Regions from separate parts of the Homo sapiens genome. Here region 1 is linked to region 2. The links are contacts of gene promoters, found by promoter capture Hi-C in blood cells and fetal thymus (Javierre and others, 2016). All regions are on one chromosome and are shown on one strand. The core of a region is centred on a gene start or on the middle of the fragment in contact, and the rest is flanking DNA. Distances in the headings are between cores, read along the strand shown.

What was found. Contacts are between HindIII fragments. The CHiCAGO score rates a contact against its expected background, and 5 or more counts as called.
Region 1: a contact is called between a fragment that was not itself captured here and the fragment with the promoter of CEACAM5 in region 2, in 1 of 17 cell types (M1 macrophages). The highest score is 5.1, in M1 macrophages.

The regions. Positions count from the first base shown.
Region 1 is chr19:41,847,727-41,853,877 of GRCh38, reverse strand. DMRTC2 (DMRT like family C2) reads right to left here. Exons shown (of 9, transcript NM_001040283.3): 3 at 5,997-6,142; 4 at 5,350-5,426; 5 at 4,903-5,083; 6 at 4,622-4,748; 7 at 3,506-3,566; 8 at 3,178-3,352; 9 at 1,545-2,294. The coding sequence ends at 2,182. Among named protein-coding and RNA genes, the nearest start is that of DMRTC2, 5.8 kb to the right of the region's middle. The HindIII fragment of the contact is 1,104 bases long and covers 928-2,031 here.
Region 2 is chr19:41,704,011-41,709,875 of GRCh38, reverse strand. It overlaps CEACAM5 (CEA cell adhesion molecule 5), which reads right to left and starts at 1,250. Exons shown (of 10, transcript NM_004363.6): 1 at 1,081-1,250; 2 at 1-196. The coding sequence starts at 1,144. RefSeq lists silencers at 2,860-2,909, 2,940-2,989, 3,010-3,129. The HindIII fragment of the contact is 18,236 bases long and covers 1-5,865 here.

The sequences.
Region 1 (6,151 bases), core at 230-2,729, 140 kb before region 2:
AGAGGACCCTTGGTCAGTGCTGAGTAGCAGAATCTCAGCCATGTTGCATGTTGCAGTGCTTCCTTTCTCTGTGACTTTGTGGCCCTGGTCATCTGTCACTAGGAAAGCATGGCACACCAAGTCTTAGGCAGGTCTATTAAGGAGCAATCATATATCTAAGTTATAGCTAAGGGGAGGGAAGAAGGGTGTGAAGCCGACTTTGGTCTCCTGATATCTCAGTATCTCCTGAGAAGTGCTGCAGGTTTGTTACTCTGTACTCTGCTAGGGAGGAGAAGAAACCCACCCTCTCAAAATCCCAAATAAGAAATAACAAGTTGTAATTGGATGTCATCACCATCAATCATCTTGAGTAAAACAAGGGGTGTAGGTAACATCAGGAAAAAGAATCAGTGATCAAGCACATCCCTTGAGCCCCTTCTAAGGGTGGGAATGGGAAGGGGGTCTCCAGGCTTCATGTCTTTGGAATAGCTCAACAGGTTTTCCTATGTACGGAATGGTTCAAGGAGAAGGACTTGACACCAGAGGACTGAGAAACAAATGCAGGTAAGATCTTATTCTTAATGATATCTTGAGGAGAAAAATAAAAGACTTTTTTGAAAAACTCTTGACTTGTATGTATCTTCTGGAGTCCTGATTGGGGAAAGGAGTGGTGCATCTTTCATTCTATGCTTTTATTTATTTGTTTTTATAGAGACAGGGTCTCCCCGTGTTACTCAGGCTGGTCTCAAACTCCTGGGCTCAAGCGATCCTCCTGCCTTGGCCTCCCAAAGTGCTGGGATTACAGGTGTGAGCTATCACACCCGGCCCAATGCTTTATAAACATTATTAACTAATTTGGAGCCTGGCAAAGAGAAGGAACCCTCCTCTGATCTCTGCCTAGAAATTTCCCCTAAAACACTTGGGCAAGTTACTTTACCTCTTTAAGCTTGTTTCTTCACTTGTAAAATGGGAACCATCCTGCATAACTTCCAGGGTTGCTGTGAAGATATGTGAATCAAATGGAGTGGGCACTCAATAAATGGTAATAAATGTTTCTTAACCTTTTATGGATCCTTCGAAACTCAGACACGTGAACCTCCCTAGTTGAGGAAAAACTTGTGATAAAGACTAACTCGATTCTTTCTATTCTGGTTAGCCTCAATTTCCCCATCTGGAAAATGTATCAAATTGGTATTCCACTGGCCAAAGCTAGCCTGAAAATATGTTTTATTTGGCACGTATAGAATTTAAAGAAGAAAACTGAGCCAACATTTGAAAATTAAGATGTTTTACATGGAAATCTAGTTTTCCAGTTTCTCTTAAAAAATCAGAAGATGGAGCAACACTGAGTCCACATTCCCGCCTGGCAGTAATCTGCTAGGGCCAAAAGGAGGCTGCTCCTTAGGCAAGGCATCCATTCTCAGTTTGCCAGGGTCCATCTGGCCTTCTTTACTCATTTATTTGATCTGCTCAGCCCTGTAGGCATTTCGATTTGTAGCCCCTCTAGACAGCTGGAAACTGTCTATGCCTGGCACAGAGCGGGCAATTAATCAGTGAATCCCCCATTATTTCTTTACATCATTTTTTTTTATTTGGACAAAGAAAAAAATCCAAGTTTGTTTTCATCTATGGTAGCTATTGGATAACAGATTTTTCACTTTGAGAAGCGAAATGAACAAGTCCTTTCTGTCAGTCAGGATAGACTAGGTTAGGCTGTGGTAACACTCTCCAAATCTCAGTGGCTTACAACAACAAAGGTTTATTTCTTGCTTACTCACACAAACCTAGACACAAAATGAAAACACTCTCCTGTTTTCACATGCATGGAGACAGACATGAATGCATAGGCATTTACAGAATCATGGAATCCTGGGATGTAAACTCATGCAAACACGTTTATAGATACTGGTCAGCTTAAATAGCACAACTCTCTCTTTATTGGGGATTTCAAGAGATCCCAGGACCCAAGAAGGGTACAAGAATATCCACTGTCAGCCAAGGAAATGCCCACACTACCAAAGGAACTGAAAGCTAATGAAGCACCTGAAAGCTTAAACAAACAAACAAACAAACAAACAAAAAAGCCCGAAGCTTGTACTACATTAAATTCCATGCATAAATCCTTAAGTAAGACACTAAATATACAGTGCCAGCAGGCTGTCACCTCCCTGCCATAGCAAGACAGCCTCCATCTCTGGGTTTCTAGCTCAGGAGGGAGATGGACCCCAGACGGCCAATATGCAGAGCAACAGAGGGGGCTGGGCTGGGTCGAAGACAGGGGCCAACAGGCTGGAATCCTCTTCCTCCAGCAGGAGCTACAGGCAAGAAGGAAGGGGCAGGATCAGGTCACACCTGTTTTTCCTTCTAGCAACCCCCTCTTTTTACCGAATCCAATCCAGGCCTCATCATTGTTCTCCTGGATTATTTCACAGACCTCCTTGCTAATTTTCCCACCTCCAGTCTTGCCTCCTCCAAACCGTCCATCAAAGCCACCCACTTGTCTTTCTAAAGCTCAGGGTCTCTGAATTTGTCCTTGCTTAGTTCAGAAACGTTCCCTGGCTCCCCTTCACATACAGTTGCTGTTCTAGACACCTAAGCCTGGCATGCCAGATCTCCACCATCAGAAGCCTCTCCAGCCTCCTTTCCCTCTGTTCTAGCATTTCCTCCAGGCCAGTCTGCCCAATCCACTATTTGGACAAGAGAATTCGCAGCTTTCCCTGTCTGTCCCCCTAGGTGTTTCTCACTCTTCAAGGTTCCTCCAATCTTCTTCAGGTTTGTCACTGAGCCTTGTGAAGGCATCCAATTTCCCTAACTAGAACGTAAGCTCCTTGAAGGCACTTATCAGACCTCCTCCCAGGCCAGACCCCACTTCAGACTTCAGCAGGCAGCCTGGGTCCAGAGACAGAGCATTGGGTTCCCTGCCACTGTCTCACTATATGCCCTTGGGCAAGTCCCTGCCTTTCTCAGTGCCCCACTTTCCTTGATATCAAGAAATTTGCTGTCGAGTGCCAAACTGATAAAAAGGATTCACTGAATAACTCTCAACTGCAATCCCAGGGGCCAGGCTGAGGAGCTTGGGGTCCTGGGCCTGAAGACGTTCAACCTGTCGACCCCCTCATCTCCTTGGTTAGTCCCTGTGTACTTCAGTGATCTCCATTTCCCAGCCATCCCTATCCATCCTCTCCTTTCATGGCCCACCTGGTGGGCCACAGGGGTGAAGCAGGGAGATCCAGGCAGGGTTGGGGGGCACAGAAGGGGTCACACGAGGAGCCTGGGATGAATCTTTCAGCCCCACGAGGGCTTCAGCTGCCTCTTGCTGCAGCTGCCACTCTGAGGGGCCAGATGTCCGGGCCAGGCACGAGGCTCCAGAGGCCTGCAAGGGAAAGGGAGACAAGCAGACTGGGAACCCCCGCTTCTGCCCACCCTCTAAGTGTTCCTCAGCCCCTGCTTCCTTCAGTTTCCTGCTTTTTCCTTCCCCAGGCTCAACCTCCTCCCAGGGCCCTAGATCCCACTTCTTTCCCAGGACCTGTGGCTGTAGCTGAAGAGGGTCTGGGGTGCCACAGGGCTGGAGTATCAGAGTTGAGTGTCTAGAAACAAGGAGAGAAGATGCCAGGGTGGTTAAACAGATGAACAGACATGCACACATTGAAAGAGGGGCAGGATTTTGCCATGTTTTGATCTGGGAATCTGAGAGCCTGCTGGGCCATTAAGCTGTGTCTTGACTTATTTTGTTTTCAGTAAAGTAAAAATCCTTGCCAGTTTTTCCTCCCAGGGCTACTGTGAGGATTATGGGAAATCACTAGTGTCTTTTTTTTTTTTGAGACAGGCTCTTGCTCTGTCACCTAGGCTGGAGTGCAGTGGCGGTGTGATCATGGCTCACCATAAGCTTGAACTCCTGGGCCTACACCATCTTCCCACCTCAGCCTCCTAAGTAGCCAGGAAAACAGGTGTGCACCACCATTCCTGGCTGTTTTAATTTTTTTGTAGAGACGAAGTCTCGCTCAGTTACTCAGGTGGTCTCAAACTCTTGGCCTCAAGTAATCCTCCCACCTCAGCCTCCCAAAGTGTTGGGATTACAGGTGTGAGCCACCAGGCCCCACCTGATGCCGGTTTTTAAAAAAACACCTAGAAGACTGAGATTACTGTCCCTGACCTATCAGAGTCTGGGTCCCATTCCCCCAGTTCCCCAGTCACCATAGAACTTGAAGGAGAGCTTGGCTCACCTTTGGGAAGCTTTTCCTAATGGCCTCTGGCCCCTCTCCTGGGTCTCTGAGGCTCTCATCATCTCTGCCCCCCATATCAGCAGGCAATCTTACCCCATCAAATCTGTCTAAGCAGATATAACAGCTACCATTAAAGAGTCTGTGCTAGGTCTATTCCATACATTATTGCTAATTCTTACAACAATCAGAGAGGTAAGTAATAGTGTCTCCAATTTACTGATAGAAAAACAGGCTCAGAGAGGTAAAGATAATTGTCCAAAGCATCACAGCTAGGAAATGGCAGTACTAGGAGAGCTCTGCCTTGCCTATTAGTCAGAGACCTTTTCATCTTCATTATCCACTGTGGTTGGACACCAGCACTGTGGTTGGACACAGCACAGGCTTAGGCTTATGATACACATCCTTCTCTCCCTACTCACGTGCGGGGCTGGCTAGGGGGCCCTTGGGGCTCTCCAGAAAGAGGAGCTGTCAGTACTGGGTGAGATCCTGGGCAGGTGGTGAAGGGCCCATGAGTGGGCAGCTGGAGGGAGGTGCCAGGGTCAAAGCCTAATAAGAATAAAAGAATGCAGAGTGTATAGGGGCCAAGGTCATAGTTTCTTTCCTCCCTCTCCCCACCTATGCTTTCTTCCTCTTCCCTCTCCAATATGTGGCAGATTGGCACTCAAATATATGTTGAATGAATGTTGAATTATCATCTTACCAGGGAAGGGAGGCAGAGAGACAGCAGGTTCTTGGTACAGCAGGCGGCACACCACTGGTGGTGGCATGGAGAAGCCTGGAGGCAGCCAGTGTCCAGGGACCCAAGGGCCAGGAGGCACCGGAGTCCAGGACAAGGGCGAGGCTTCCGGGGGATGGCTGAGCAGCAGAGGCCCACAGGAGTTCTGCAGGGGCAGAGGGCACAGGCTGGAGTTGGGTACAAGGCTGGAAAAGGATTGAGTGTATTCTGGGATACGGGCAGAACCCCAAAACTTTGGGGCTGGGAGGCCCTCGTTTTCCCCTCATTTTGCCTAGAGAAGAGCAGTGATTTGACTAGATTACATAGCAAACCAGGGCTGGGGCTAGAACCCAGGTGTTGAGGGCACAGAAGAAAGGGTCTGGGTAGGAACTAGGGTGGGGGACACTTTCTCAGGCCCCAGCCTCTCCTTACCTTCCCGGGGGGTGTCGGTGCCAGCAGGACTGCCCCATGGGGGGTCTGAGGCTGGGGTGCTATGTTCTCCTTTCCAGCTGTGAAGGACCAGGGAGAGCTCTAATGAGCCCTTTCTCCTGACCCCTATCCTACCCCAACCCCAGACAGTTCTCATCTCCCCCATCTAGCTCATTTTTTTTTTTTGAGATGGAGTCTTGCTGTGTCGCCCAGGCTGGAGTGCAGTGGCGTGATCTTGGCTCACTACAACCTCCGCCTCCTGGGTTCAAGTGATTCTCCTGCCTCAGCTTCCCGAGTAGCTGGGACTACAGGCATGCGCCACCAAGCCCAGCTAATTTTTGTATTTTTAGTAGAGACGGGGTTTCACCATGTTGGCCAGGATGGTCTCGATCTCTTGACCTCGTGGTCTGCCTGCCTCAGCCTCCCAAAGTGCTCGGATTACAGGCGTGAGCCACTGTGCCCGGCCTCTAGCCCATTTTTGACCCACAGAACTCGCTGCATTCTCTCAACGCTGGGACAGCTGAGGCCGAGGGAGTAGAAACCCTTAGTTCAAGGTCGTACACCAATTCAGCAGCAGGACTGGGCCTCTTTTTCCCATACCTGCCTCCTGTACCCAAACTCCTGCCCCATCGCTGGTCAGAGACACTCACAGGGGACCTGTGGCTGAGTGGTTCCCTTTCTGAAGTGGTTGGGAGCTTTGGGAGAGGCTTCCCCTCTCCTCATCAGGTGCTTCTTTAGCTGCGCCTCCTGCTGCCTACGCAAGGCCACCTGGGCAGCCATGACCCTGCGGCGCTCCCTAAAAGTG
Region 2 (5,865 bases), core at 1-2,500:
TGAGTTCCTATTACATATCCTATAATTTGACGGTTGCCATCCACTCTTTCACCTTTGTACCAGCTGTAGCCAAAAAGATGCTGGGGCAGATTGTGGACAAGTAGAAGCACCTCCTTCCCCTCTGCGACATTGAACGGCGTGGATTCAATAGTGAGCTTGGCAGTGGTGGGCGGGTTCCAGAAGGTTAGAAGTGAGGCTAGGAGAGAGCAGAGAGCATCGGTCAATATTGGGACCTATGCATTAGGGTGGAAAAATGGGGTCCTGGGTCCTGAGCAGGTCTCTTCATCCCCCAGCCCTGGAGTGAGTGAGTGTGTGTGTGTGTGTGTGTGTGTGTGTGTCCTACTAGGTCAAGGTCAGCAGTGTGTCTCCTATTTCCTTAGCACCTCTGACCTTGGCATTTCCCTGTGTGGAATCTGCTTTTCCAGGGGTCTTCACGGCTCCCTCCCCATTGCCTTCAGGTCCTGCTCACATCAGGGCATTCTTGGGAGATCCCTTCCCTGACACCTCCTCTAGAGACCCTGGGTCTTCCTTTTCTGACCTTTCCCTGCTCTATTCCCTCCAGGGCTCTTGTCAACACCTGACCTCACATTCTAGATCTCTTTGTATGTCTGTCTTCCTCCCCATGAGAGCATGAGCTTCATGAGGGCAGGGATTTGTGTGATCTTGGTTGCACCCCAGTGCCTGGGACAGGCTGCAGATTCCTGTGGATGAGTTCATGAGGGTTCCCAGGGCCCTCCACAGCCTGGGGCTTATTTTCCAATGTCCGCGGTAGGCGGATGAGGACAGTGTTTCATGCCCTGGTTATGTTTTTATTTAAAGTGTCATCTGATGCAGTTATTATGATTTTTAAAAACGTAGTGGCCAGTGACAATTAACTAGGAAAATAGAACTCTTGAGGTTTTCCTGCCCCTTTCCAATTCCAGTTCAATTTGATTTTTCTGGTGTGACTCCTGTCCCTCTCTGATGTCCTCTTCCCTATTCAGGCTCCAACAGGAGCCCTCTGTCCGTCTCACAGCCCTGTCCTACCCAGGAGACCCCAGCTCCCTCCTCCCACCCTCTCCCAGGTTGTCCTCCCTTCACCTGTGAGCAGGAGCCTCTGCCAGGGGATGCACCATCTGTGGGGAGGGGCCGAGGGAGACTCCATGGTCTCTGCTGTCTGCTCTGTCCTCCTCTGTGGAGAAGAGCTTGAGTTCCAGGAACGTTTTGTCAAGGCTGCTGTGACTGTCTGGTCTGCTGTCCTTCCTCCCTCTGCCCTGAGTCTCTTCCTAGGGCAGGAGTACTTCTCAGCATCACGTGGGTCATGGGTGTGGTCTTTATTCAGGTGTCCTCTGTCCCCTCCCCTCTCATTTCTGCCTCTTTTGTCCCTCCTCTTTTTTCCCTTCTATTTTCAGTTCCTCAGACAAATCTTTTCGGCAAGGTGGATGGACCCCCATCCCCTGGGAGGACAACCTGTCTTCCCCAGTGCTGACCTCTGCTGTGTTCTGTCCTTGGGTCTGTCACACCAGGGGGATTATTTTCCTTTGTGACAGAGAAACCCAGCAGGGTCCCGGGTCTCCCCATGCTCTCCAGGGCTCTGGGAAGGTGGGATGATGCCCAACAGGAAGGTGACAGAGGTGGCTCTGGGGGCTAGAAAAAGGCTCACTGGGTGGTGGCTGGGGAGGGACCAGCCCTCTGTCTCCAGTACCACCAACCCCGCCACTGACCCAGGGATGGAGACCCAGGCCCAGAGGTCTCAGGAGTCCCCAGATCCTGCATGTGGAGGGGGAGGTGTCTTGTGTGTCCTGGAAAGAGAGGACTGTGGTGGAGGGAGGTGGGTGACTCTGGGCTCTGCTGTCCTTGGGGAAGGCTCCAGGGGGACCCTCCCTCTCCGTGTCTGTTGGCTGAGCTGCGGCTCAGGGCCTGTCCATGTTCTCCCTGACAGTCCTGGGTGGTCTCTGTCCTCTGCGAGGCTGACTGTCCTGTGATCACCCCACCTTCCCCATGGTGGTACCAGGAGGGAGTCTGGAGTTGCACAGGGACCCCTGGCAGAACAGGGTCCTCATAGGACCCAGAAAGGAACAGAGCAGGTATGTGGGAGAGATCAGAAGGGTCTGTTGGAGCAAGGGATGGAAACCAGGCTCCACCTCCACTTCCTTAGCAAAGCCAGGTTCCTGTCCAGGGGAATCCGTTTCCTGAGTGATGTCTGTGTGCAATGTCACCCCCTGGAGGGCAAGAGGAGACCTCCGGCCTTGTCTGGAACTGCCCTAGGGATGCTGACCAGGGTCGACGTGGTGTGAGCTGACCCTGAACTCTGGATTAGGCTGCAGGGTCAGGCCGGAGGATCTATTCCCTGCAGGCCTCTGTCCTCCCTTCTGAAGCTCTGGGGGTTGAGGCCTCATTCCTGGGGCAGCCGCGGGCACTTGCTGGCCTCCTCCCATGCTGGTGCCAGTGCCCCTGTGTCCACATGGAACAGACTCTGACTGCTGGGGGCCACACGGAGGTGATATGCTTCTTTTTAGAGATCTCCCACACATTTAACCAGTATTTATGGAGCATCTGTTCCGTGTCAGGCACTGGGCTGGGCCCTGGGATTCCACAGAGAGCAGGACAGACGTGGTCCCTGTCACAGAGTTTTCCTGTAACCGGGAGACAGGCGCTCAGTGAACTTCATGGGACTGAGGAGTTAATGGTAATGACAGGGCTGTGAGGTGACAGCATAGGGGGCGTCGGAGCCTGTGAGAGACTGAGCTGTCCTGGAGATCACAGGGAGCTGCCCTGGGAGACGCCCTTTCAGCTGAGCCCGGGGAAGGAGGGGGTGTAGGGGACAGGAGCTGCCTGCAGAGGGCAGCCGACAGGCCTCAAGTGGGCGGCCGACAAGCCTCAGGTGGGCGGCCGATAGGCTGCAGGGAGGAGCTGACAGAGTCCGTGTGAGGAGCTCGGAGGGCGAGGAGGACGTGGGCCGAGGTGACCCGGGTGAGGGTGGACCCTGCTGGGCTGTGGGCCCGGCTGAGGGAGGTCAGCAGCCCCTGGGGAGGCTCCAGGGTGGGAGGAACTCTGCCGCCCTCTGGTGGACAGGAGGGAAGTGGGGACAGCAGCGGCCCCAGACCAGGCTGTTTTACTCAACACTGATCTCTAGACATTGAACACGGGTCATGCACATGTTATGCCAAAGTGCTACCAGGTTTCAGCTCGGTGAGCCCCAGTCTCTGTGGCTACAAGTGTACTGTCCTCCCTCTTTCACAATCAGATGTCCCCAAATGCAGATTTTTGTCACCTTTTGTGACTTTGCTTTTGTCGGCAGGAGGCTGCGCTGTGCATGCTCCCAGGGGCAGTGATGTCTGGGGCTAAGCGTGTGCGGGGATCTGGGAGTAGAAGATTGTATTAGTCTGTCCTCGCATTGCTATAAAGAAATACCTGAGACTGGGTAATTTATAAAGAAAAGAGGTTTAATTCGCTCATCATTCTGCAGTTGTACAGGAAGCATAGTGGCTTCTGCTCCTGGGGAGGCCTCAGAAAACTTACAATCATTCTGGACGGTGAAGGGGAAACAGGAACGTCTTACATGGCAGAGCATGAGTAAGAGAGAGAGAGAGAGAGGGGAGAGGTGCTACACACTTTTAAACAACCAGATCATGTGAGATCTCTATCACAGAAACAGCATCAAAGCAGAAAATCCACCCGCATTATCCAATCACTTCTCACAAGGCCCCACCTCCAACATTGGGGTTTACAATTTGACATGAGATTTGGGCGGGGACATAGATCCAAATCATATTTGAGAGAGAGGGGCATGAGGAGAAGGTGAATGTTGGGGTAGCAGAGAGGAGCAGGGACAAGTCAACCTCACTTCTCACTCCCTGGGGACCAGAACAGGAGAGCCCGACTCTGGGGGCACAGCACCACACACTCTGTGTGTCCGTGCATCAGGGGAGGTGGGAGCTGCTTCTCTGTTCATGGGACCTGGCCTCACCTGCTGAGATGTCTTCACACTTAGTCCCATCCTGGGCTGCAGCCCCACAGAGCCTGTGTCCTCCTCTCCTCTCCTGCCCATTCCTGGATTTTTCTTCCTGAACCATCTTCTCCCATCTGTGGCTTCACCTGCTCCCGTTTCAGGCAGCTGCCCCTGGATCATTGCCCTGTCACCATCTCTGGGCTCACTGGCCTCTGCCATTTGTTCTGAGACTTGAGCCCTGAGCCCTGAGCCCTGTGAGGGAGGAAGAGTGAAGTGGGGTGGGCGCTGTCCAAGGTGCTGCCCTCTCTGGACAGCTTGAGTGAGGGACCCTGATGTGTCACCTGGGAGGAGGCTCCGGGAGGGAGCTGTGTCAGGGATGCCTGGATCAGGGGGATGGGGCACCTACACCAGGGTGAGCTGGACCTGTGGACTGCAGGAACCCTGCTCTGTGTCATCCATCAGCTCCTCGAGCCCCGTCTTCCTCTCTGTACCTGATTCTCTGGTGTGATCCCTGAGCCCGCGCTAGAGTCCTCCTCACAATGCCTAATGGTCAGATCTATGTGTGGAGACCTAACGGTGGGGGGGTGGGGAGGTCTCGTGTGCTCACACAGAGTGCCCTGGGGACAGGCTTTATGACCTCCCTTGTCCCAATCCCACAACAAGATCTGGACAGTGGGCCGGGTCAGATAAAGTCAGAATCCACGAGAAGGGTGTGTGTCCTGGCAGTGCTGAGGTTTGTGCCCCCAGCTTTACTCTCAGTCTGTTTGCAGATACATTTATGTTGTGCACCTGCAGTTGGCTGGGAAGCCTCATGTCCTTAAATCCTTAGTTATTCCTGTGCAGGTCATGAGGGGCCTGTACCTGGGTACAATGAGGACTATCTGATTAGGGTGGGTGTATTTTACATGGTGGGCTTTCCCTCTCCCAGTGTTTCTTGGATGTAGTCAAATACATAAGATAAAATATGCCACATTAATCATGTTAAGTGTACAATTAAATGCCGTTAATTATATTCACAATATTCTACATCCTCACCACTATATTTTTTTTTCCAGAACATTTTCATCATCTCACATAGAAACTTCATACTATTAATCATTAACTCTCCACCTTCCCCTGCCCCTAGCCCTTGGTAGCCACTGATGCTATCTTTCTCTTTTTTTTTGAGACAGAGTCTCATTCTGTCACCCAGGCTGGAGTGCAGTGGTGTGATCTCGGCTCACTGCAACCTCTGCCTCCCGGGTTCAAGCAATTCTCCTGCCTCGGCCTCCCAGAGGCACCTAGGTGACCTAACTCTTAAGAGCCTGGGGCCGGCAGGTGGGTGTCCTAGGCATAAATGGTGCCCACTGGACTGGAGGAAGGTGAGAAGCCATGGGTATTCCATGTCTTCTCCCAGCTTCCCAGCTCCTGGGTTGGTGCTGTCCTGCAGTAGGCAGTGGGTAGATGGGCATGGCTGCACGTTAGGCTGGGAAACATGTCGTCCTCTCAGACATTGTCACTGCAGAAGGAGGATTCTGTTCACAGGCCTGGTATGGGCATATGGGAGAGACCACCCTGTTCTCATCAGGGGCTTAGACACTGGTGTTCCCACTCCTGGTGCTGCCTCCTGCTTTCCCTGCCCTGGCCCTCAAGGAAGAGCGGCTCCTGGTCAAAGCTCCATCTCTCTCTCTGAGGCTTCAGCATGGTCTCATTGGTGCAGGGGTCTGGGTAAACCTCAGAGAGAGAGGCTCTGAAGAGCGGGGCACCTGCTGGGGATGCAGAAGGGTCCCCACTATGCTTAAGGGGAGTAATCCTGAGGGTCCCAAGGCTCCTCACCACTACCAGGTGCCAAGAAACTCCCAGCAAATTGGGGCTGCCTTGTGGCGAAGCACCTCCAAGCCTCGCTGCCTGCCATGTGCAGTGATTGGTGGATCCCAGTTAGGGGCATCTTGGCA